2 separate regions of the Homo sapiens genome follow, and region 1 is linked to region 2. Evidence: promoter capture Hi-C in human tissues and cell types (Jung and others, 2019). All regions are on one chromosome and are shown on one strand. The core of a region is centred on a gene start or on the middle of the fragment in contact, and the rest is flanking DNA. Distances in the headings are between cores, read along the strand shown.

Evidence for each region. The method cuts DNA at HindIII sites, captures the fragments that hold promoters and counts their contacts. A contact is called where the count stands out against the background at its distance.
Region 1: the fragment with the promoter of FKBP10 here is called in contact with a fragment that was not itself captured in region 2 in 2 of the 25 tissues and cell types used here (H1 embryonic stem cells and IMR-90 fibroblasts).

The regions. Positions count from the first base shown.
Region 1 is chr17:41,810,324-41,814,424 of GRCh38, forward strand. It overlaps FKBP10 (FKBP prolyl isomerase 10), which reads left to right and starts at 2,681. Exons shown (of 10, transcript NM_021939.4): 1 at 2,681-2,956. The coding sequence starts at 2,712. It overlaps P3H4 (prolyl 3-hydroxylase family member 4 (inactive)), which reads right to left and starts at 1,626. Exons shown (of 8, transcript NM_006455.3): 1 at 1,131-1,626; 2 at 809-961; 3 at 540-711. The coding sequence starts at 1,592. RefSeq lists a silencer at 1,256-1,745 and an enhancer at 1,886-1,995. The HindIII fragment of the contact is 16,914 bases long and covers 1-4,101 here.
Region 2 is chr17:41,996,968-42,001,270 of GRCh38, forward strand. It overlaps DNAJC7 (DnaJ heat shock protein family (Hsp40) member C7), which reads right to left. Exons shown (of 14, transcript NM_003315.4): 2 at 3,515-3,603; 3 at 148-272. Among named protein-coding and RNA genes, the nearest start is that of DNAJC7, 18 kb to the right of the region's middle. The HindIII fragment of the contact is 6,309 bases long and covers 1-4,303 here.

The sequences.
Region 1 (4,101 bases), core at 1,431-3,930, 190 kb before region 2:
CCACCACGACCAGCTAATTTTTGTACTTTCAGTAGAGACGGGGTTTCACCATGTTGGTCAGGCTGGTCTTGAACTCCTGACCTCGTGATCTGCCTGCCTCGGCCTCCCAGAGTGCTGAGATTACAGGTGTGAGCCACCACACCTGGCCAAGTACAGTCCTTTCTGCCCCTGCTCGAGGGACCCCAGGGTTAGAGATCCCAAGACTAGGTGTAATTTCTGGTTATCAACTGCTTTCTGCACACATCTGCTGGGTTACTTCTCACCGCTGCACCTTTGCATCTGCACTGCCCTCTGCCTGGAAGGCCTATGAACCCAAGCTTCCCAAACCCTTTAGGGATGTCACTGCCTCTACTCACTGATCCAGCCCCTTGGACACTCCCAGCTGGGGCCCCTGCACCCAGCGTCTTTCTCAACAGACAAGGCCTTCCTCCCGGCTGGCTCCTCCGCATTCGCAGTGCTCCACGTGCATGAAGGGGACATCTGCCTTACCGGGCCCTGTGGGTGAGAGGACCGCCCACCGTGGTCTGGGTGGCAGATACCTGCTATGGCCGGGTAGAAGTCCTTGAAGTCCACCTGCTCATGGGCCCCTTCACAGCCGGCCAGGCACCGGGCAAAGACTGCCAGGTACTCTGACAAGGCCCGCTCCATGTCCTCCGTGCTGCTGCGGAAATCCCCGCTGTTGTAGAGCTTCACAGCCCGGAGGAACACGGCCTGGAAGGGGCGTGGCAGGGGGAGTCAGGGCGCCCCCAACATCTCCCCTCCTCTACTAGCCCTCCTCTACAAGCCTCCTCCTGACCCTCCACCCCACCTCGTAGGGCTGGGCCTCTAGGTCCGTGAGGGACTCGTCGGCGACGTCCAGCATCCCCTGATAGTAGTTGAGATACTTGGCGGTCAGCTCGTGCTTCGGGTTCCTCTGGAGGAAGGTGTAGGCCGCCGCCACCGCCTTCTCCAGCCGGTTAGCCTGGTCGGGGGGTAGGGGGTGGGGGAGCGGGTCAGCAAGACCGGAGCTCGCGGCCCCGAGCGCACGGCGGGCTTCGTGCCTTGGGTGAAGATAACGCTCCTTCGACCGATCTGTGGGGAGCCACGACGCCCAGCCCGAGACAGGTCCCCGGGTGGGGGCGGGCTCCCACCTTGAACAGCGCGTAGTGCAGGTACTGGTAGGGCAGGCGGCTCTGGAAGTCACGCAGCAGCTGCCGCGGCGGGTAGGGCACCTGGAAGGCGGGCAGCGTCCGCTTGCAGCGCCGCAGGCAGGCGGCTCGCTCCAGGACGCGGCCGAAGAGCCGCAGCTCGCAGGCCCACTCGTCTGCGCGGCCGCCGTCGGGATCGGGCTTGGCCGCGGGCGCGGGGCCGCTGCAGTTGGCGTGGCAGAAGGCCTCGCTGTCGCGCAGGAGCCGGTGCAGCCGCAGCGCCGCCTCCAGGTAGCGCGCGCTCTCGCGCCAGCTCTCTCCCTCGTACTGCTCCAGAGCGTGCCCGTACGCCGCGGCCAGCGGCATCAGGTCCTCGGGCGGGAAGCCCCGGAAGCTGTACTTCTCGTACTGCGCCCCGGCGCTGCCCAGCAGCAACCACAGCAGCCCCCACGCCACCCGAGCCATGCCCGCCGCGCCGCCGGCTCTCCGGAGCTGAGCTGGCTGCCCCGCGGACGGAAGGGGACAGGGCCGGGCCCCGGGCGGGCGGCGCGCCCGCTGGGTCTTAGCGCCGGGCACGAGGCGGCAAGGTGGGGCGGGGCCTGGGTCACGACGTCTCCCCTCTTTTCCCAGAGGGTCCGATAGTGTCGTTAAGTCCTCTCCGTCGGCCCGGGCTCCTGCCTTGGGGGTGTCCCCTAGGTAGAGAATGCGTCGGGGAGCGCTTCCCGCCAGAGATGGGAAGCCCAGGAAGCCCCTCCCCATGCAAACAGTGCCCCCGCCTGAGATCAGGACACTGAGTGAGGGCCGCCTCCTCTGCGCTGCCCATACGAGAAGGAAGCCCTGGAGCCGGGCCTTCCGTCGCTGCGCCCTCCTGCACCCTCCGAGTGTCTCCCCCGCCCACGTCGGAGGCACACACCTGCTGTCACCTGCACACCTTGCGCTGCCACCACCCCCCACTCCATCTCCGTGCCCGTCACATCCCAAGTCACAAAGTCCTTCTTTCAGTCCAGCTTTTGCGGGACCAAGCTGCTCTTCCCTGGAGATGCCTTCCCTTGGAGTACAGCTGGGGTCACGGATGAGCACGGAGATGCCTCTCACACTCCGCGGCTTCACCACCCACCTGGAGGGGACTAGAATTCGAAGTGCCCGCGAAAGAAGCAAGGTTCATCTCCGCCCGGCTTTAGGACCCGGGGGCTCCGGAAAAAGTCATTGAACTTTTTTTTTTTTTTTTCCTTTGGTGTCCACTCAGAGTTCTCATCTTTCCCGAGCCTCTCTCCCTGGCCAGGCCCCAGGTCTCGCAGCCAGGGATGGAGATGGGGGGAGGGGGAACCTAGAGTTCTTTGTAGTGCCTCCCTCAGACTCTAACACACTCAGCCTGGCCCCCTCCTCCTATTGCAACCCCCTCCCCCGCTCCTCCCGGCCAGGCCAGCTCAGTCTTCCCAGCCCCCATTCCACGTGGACCAGCCAGGGCGGGGGTAGGGAAAGAGGACAGGAAGAGGGGGAGCCAGTTCTGGGAGGCGGGGGGAAGGAGGTTGGTGGCGACTCCCTCGCTCGCCCTCACTGCCGGCGGTCCCAACTCCAGGCACCATGTTCCCCGCGGGCCCCCCCAGCCACAGCCTCCTCCGGCTCCCCCTGCTGCAGTTGCTGCTACTGGTGGTGCAGGCCGTGGGGAGGGGGCTGGGCCGCGCCAGCCCGGCCGGGGGCCCCCTGGAAGATGTGGTCATCGAGAGGTACCACATCCCCAGGGCCTGTCCCCGGGAAGTGCAGATGGGGGATTTTGTGCGCTACCACTACAACGGCACTTTTGAAGATGGCAAGAAGTTTGATTCAAGGTAACCCCGGTTGGGCGCCCCCGGATTCACCACTCCGTCCCCTGAACCCGGGGTCCTGTTTCCTTGTTGCCTCTTTTAAGCTCTGCATCCCAATACTCTAACCCTAGACAGCACCCCTGGGGCCTCCCAGACACCCATCTCCCCAAAGATACCCTCCTGCCCCCACTTCCAAACCCTCACTTCTCAAAGGATCCCATTTCTTTCTCACAAGCTCTCCACATCCCGGAAAGGACTCGATAATCAAGGTGAACTGCCTTGTGTAGTTACCAGGGCTGTATGTAATGACCTGATGGAGAGGGGTGTTCTGATCTACAGTGTTGGGGGGAAGGGGGTGGTCCCTGCTGCTTAAGAACCCTGGGATGGTCTATCAGCCTGGACCCCGTACCTTTCCACCCACCCTGACTCCCCTTCTGGTTCCACTGTTTTCAGTGCCTTTGTGGTCAGAGAAGAGGGAATAGAACTTTTTTTTGGAGGGGGTGGGAGTTTTCAGCGGCTGGTGGGCAGGGAAAAAGGCTGGTGGGTATTATAAGAAGACAGCCGGCTGGACCTGGGGGTAGCGCGTGGCTCCCTGCGGAGGCCCTGTCTACGTGTCACACAGTCGGACATGCCACCCTGGGCTCCTTGGAGGAATTTCATTCCTCCCTCTCTGGTTCTCCTGGAACCCTCATCTCTCTCCATTTTAGGTACACCAGGCCAGAGGCACAGGCCGCCCATTTTTGCCAGCCTTGGGGTTTGTAAGGTGGCCTCCTGGTCTGACCCAGGCCTTTGGTCTGCCCCAGCAAGTCCACTTTTGTTAGCGGGGACAGGGCAGGGCTGTATGCCAGCCTCAGGGGTAAATCTAGGGTCCCAGTTACACACAGACCCCACAGCACACTGAAAGAAGTCAGTGTTTCTTAGACCCTCCTCTGAAACACACAACTCAGCCCACAGGAAATTAGTGGCCATGACTTTAGAGGCAGGCATATATTGGGGTAAGCCTACAAACTCCAAGAGTCCCAAGACCCTGGTTCAAATCCAGGCTATGACCATGGACAGAGAATTTTGTCTCTTTAGGCATCACTTTCCTTATCTGAAAAGTGGAGACAAAAACAGGACCTACTTGCTAAGGCTGATGTTAGGACTCCAAGGACATGGATGAATGAACG
Region 2 (4,303 bases), core at 1,652-4,151:
AACAACCCACAGTGCACAGTAAAGTCCCCCACAACAAAGAATAATCTGGTCCCAAATGTCAGTAGTGTCAAGGTTGAGAAATACGGGGCTAGAGAAACTCAACTGTAGCAACCCAGCCTTCCCCAAACAGCCCCATTACATACATACCCGGACAAAACTGTCATCCAACCTCACTGACTGTTGTGCATCTCCAAGAGCTTCCCGGAACCTTCCAAGCATCATCAAGGTGGCTGCTCGATTACCATAATAGCTAGCATTTTTAGGACACATATCTATAGGAAAGGCAGAAGAACGTAAAACAAAGTTTAGAACAGGTCCCTGCTTTGAAAACTTAGAGGGGGCTGGGCGCAGTGGCTCATGCCCATAATCCCAGTACTTTGGGAGGCCAAGAGGGGAGACCACTTGAGGTCAGGAGTTCAAGACCAGCCTAGTCAACATGGCACAACCCCATCTCTACTAAAATACAAAAAAAAAAAAAAAATAGCTGGGCGTGGTGGTGGGCCCCTGTAATTCCAGCTACTCAGGAGGCTGAAGCATAAGAATTGCTTGAATCTGGGAAGTGGAGGTTGCAGTGACCCAAGAGCACATCACTGCACTCCAGCCTGGGCGACAGAGGAAGACCCTGTCTCAAAAAACAAACAAACAAATAAACAAAAACTTAGAGGGCATCTCCCTCCAAACAATGTTAAGGGAATCTATCTGTAACGCTCATAAACTCTTTTTTCTTCATGGAGACAGGGTCTCACTCTGTTGCACAGGCTACAGTGCTGTGGTGCTATCTCGGCTCACTGTAACCTCTGCCTCCTGGGTTCAAGTGATTCTTGTGCCTTAGCCTCCCAAGCAGCCAAGCAGCTAGGATTACAGGCATGTGCCACCACGCCTGGCTAATTTCTGTATTTTTATTTATTTATTTGAGGCACAGTCTGGCTCTGTTGCCCACGCTGGACTGCAGTGGTATGATCTCTGCTCACTGCATCCTCCGCCTCCTGGGCTCAAACCATCTTCCTACCTCAGCCTCCTAAGTGGCTGGGACCACAGGCACACGCCACCACATCCAGCTAATTTTTGTATTTTTTGTTGAGATGGGGTTTTGCCGCGTTGGCCAGGCTGGTCTTGAACTCCTGGCCTCAAGTGATCCATCTGCCTCAGCCTCCAAAAGCGTTGGGATTACAGGAGTGAGCTATTGCACCCAGCCCTGACACACTCTCTTTAGAATGCCACAGCCAGCACAGTGGCTCACACCTATAATCTCAGCACTTTGGGAGGCCGAGGTGGGCAGATCACTTGGGGCCAGGAGTTTTGAGACCAGCCTGGCCAACATGGCAAAACGCTGTCTCTGCTAAAATACAAATAAATTAGCCAAGCATGGTGGCACACACCTGCAATCCCAGCTACTCAGGTGGCTAAGGCATGAAAATCGCTTGAAACTAGGAGGTGAAGGTTGCAATAAGCCAAGATTGTGCCACTACACTCCAGCCTGGGTGACAGTGACACTGTCTCAACAATAAATAAATAGGCTGCATCCAAATTTCTGACTGCTTGTGCAAATGGACAGCAGCAAGGATACAATCAGTTTTAAAACAAAACAAGGTACGGCTTTGAAGTGTAGTGATTATCTTTTGAGGAGAGAGGCAGCTTATTAATCTTAATGAACTGTTTTGTATAATGAGACATTAAAATGAAATGTGCATGTTGAGCTGGGGTAAGCAAATTAGGTGAGAAGAATGCTGACACGGGATTAAAGTATGCTGGCAAATTAAGCATGGAGATAACTAAGACTTCTTTTATGTACAAAGGCCATTTTCTAAGGTAGTAAATGAATTGACAATGACTGAAATGTATTTAGGTGGGTTTTGCCATAACATTCAGTATTTCTGGAATTGCCTTTAATTTATCAAAAGAAAAACTACCCACCCCAGTTAGAAGAAGTTATCACAGCTGGGGATGGTGGCACATCCCTGTAATTCTAGCACTTTGGGAGGCCAAGGTAGGAGGATCGCTTGAGCCCAGGAGTTTGAGACCAGCCGGGGCAACATGGTAAGACCCTGTCTCTATTTTAAAAAATTTAAAGAGTTAAAAAAAAAGAAAAGAAAAAGAAAAAAGTTATCATTCATGAGTTTGTTTTTTTTTTTGAGACGGAGATTCGCGCTTGTTGCCCAGGCTGGAGTGCAGCGACGTGATCTTGGCTCACTACAACCTCTGCCTCCCAGGTTCAAGCAATTCTCCTGCCTCAGCCTCCCGAGTAGCTGGGATTACAAGCGCCCACCACACCTGGCTAATTTTTGTATCTTTAGAGACAGGGTTTCACCATGTTAACAGGCCAGGCTGAAATGAAATGTGCATGTTGAGTTGGGGTAAGCAAATTAGGGGAGAAGAACTCCTGACCTCAGGTGATCCGCCCGCCTCGGCCTCCCAAAATGCTGGGATTACAGGCATGAGTCACCACGCCTGGCCTTCATGAGATCATTAAGCCTGAAGGAGTTCATACAGTAACAGTTATCAACCCATTGGGCAAAAGGCTACTTCTCAGAGAGAAGCTACTTTTCTCAATTTTTTTTAATTTAATTTTTGAGATGGAGTTCTTTGGTCGTCCCCCAGGCTGGAGTGCAACGGCAGGATCTCAGCTCACTGCAACCTCCACCTCCTGGGTTCAAGCGATTCTCCTGCCTCAGCCTCCCTAGTAGCTGGGATTACAGGCACGCACCACCACACCCAGCAAATTTTTGTATTTTGTAGAGACAGGGTTTCACCATGTTAGCCAGGCCGGTCTCAAACTCCTGACTTTAGGTGATCTGCCTGCCTTGGCCTTCCAAAGTGCTGGGATTATAGGCGTGAGCCACTGAGCCTGGCCTATTTTTTTTATCTTTTTGAGATGAAGTCTTGCTTTGTTGCCCAGGTTGGAGTGCAGTGGCACAATCTTGGCTCACTGCAACTTCTACCTCCCGAGTTCAGGCAATTCTCCTGCCTCAGCCTCCCAAGTAGCTGGGATTACAGGTGCCCGCCACCAGGCCCAGCTAATTTTTGTATTTTTAGTAGAGACAGGGTTTCGTCATGTTGGCCAGAGTGGTCTGAAACCCCTGATCTAAAGTGATCCGCCTGCTTTGGCCTCCCAAAGTGCTGGGATTACAGGCATGAGCCACTGAGCCTGGCCTATTTTTTTTATCTTTTTGAGATGAAGTCTTGCTTTGTTGCCCAGGTTGGAGTGCAGTGGCACAATCTTGGCTCATTGCAACCTCTACCTCCCGAGTTCAGGCAATTCTCCTGCCTCAGCCTCCCAAGTAGCTGGGATTACAGGTGCCCGCCACCAGGCCCAGCTAATTTTTGTATTTTCAGTAGAGACGGGGTTTCGTCATGTTGGCCAGAGTGGTCTGAAACCCCTGATCTAAAGTGATCCTCCTGCTTTGGCCTCCCAAAGTGCTGGGATTACAGGCGTGAGCCACCAGGACTTGGCAGCTACTTTTAATAATATTTGGCAAGTAAATGTTTTCTAGCGTAAGTATCAGTTCTTTCTCACCTATGGCTTTTGTATAATAATTATAAGCTTCATTGTAATCTTTCTTGGCATAGTATGCATTTCCTTGTTCCTTGAAAGTCTCTGCTTCCCTGAAAATGAAAGAGAAAGAGAATCATGTTACTTTACAAAGGGAATAACCTCTGTAATCTTACAGGAGGAATCTTTGGTCTAGAGCCCGCAGCACACTGAGCTGAAAGTTAGTGTGATACTTGAAGGATTTATAGATTTGTTGAATAGGCCAATGGACCAAAAGGAGGTGCTAATGAAAGAATCCAAGTTCTTCAGATGCTCCTTTTTGTCACTTAGATACATTCAAACTAAATCAAGAAAACCCCTCTTATGTTCCTGCCTCACCTCACTATTTCTGCCTGTAGTCATCCTCCCCGCAGGACAAATTTAGACATTCCCTCATGGCAAGGAATTTTTCTATCTCCTTCCACAGTGTCACAACTGCTGCCTCTTTTGCAAACTTACAGGAAAAATGGTTACTCCATTCAGGGCAACTTATTTCTCAATGTGAAATAGGTCACATCCTCAAGAGTTTTAATAATTTCACCTCCTGAAAAGTGGCTCATGCATTTGTCACTGGAAGAACAAGCAGAGCAAAGGCAGGTGGCAAAAGAGTTAAAAGCATAGCATGTTGGTGTTTAAGACAGGAACAGAGCTGAGTGACAGCAGAGACTAAGACCGTGGATGACAGGGACATATGAGGTACAGGATGCCAGTGCCATACTATAAGGAGCACCCATCCACTGGTGTTCCCTCTTCCCATCACAACAATGTAGGTAC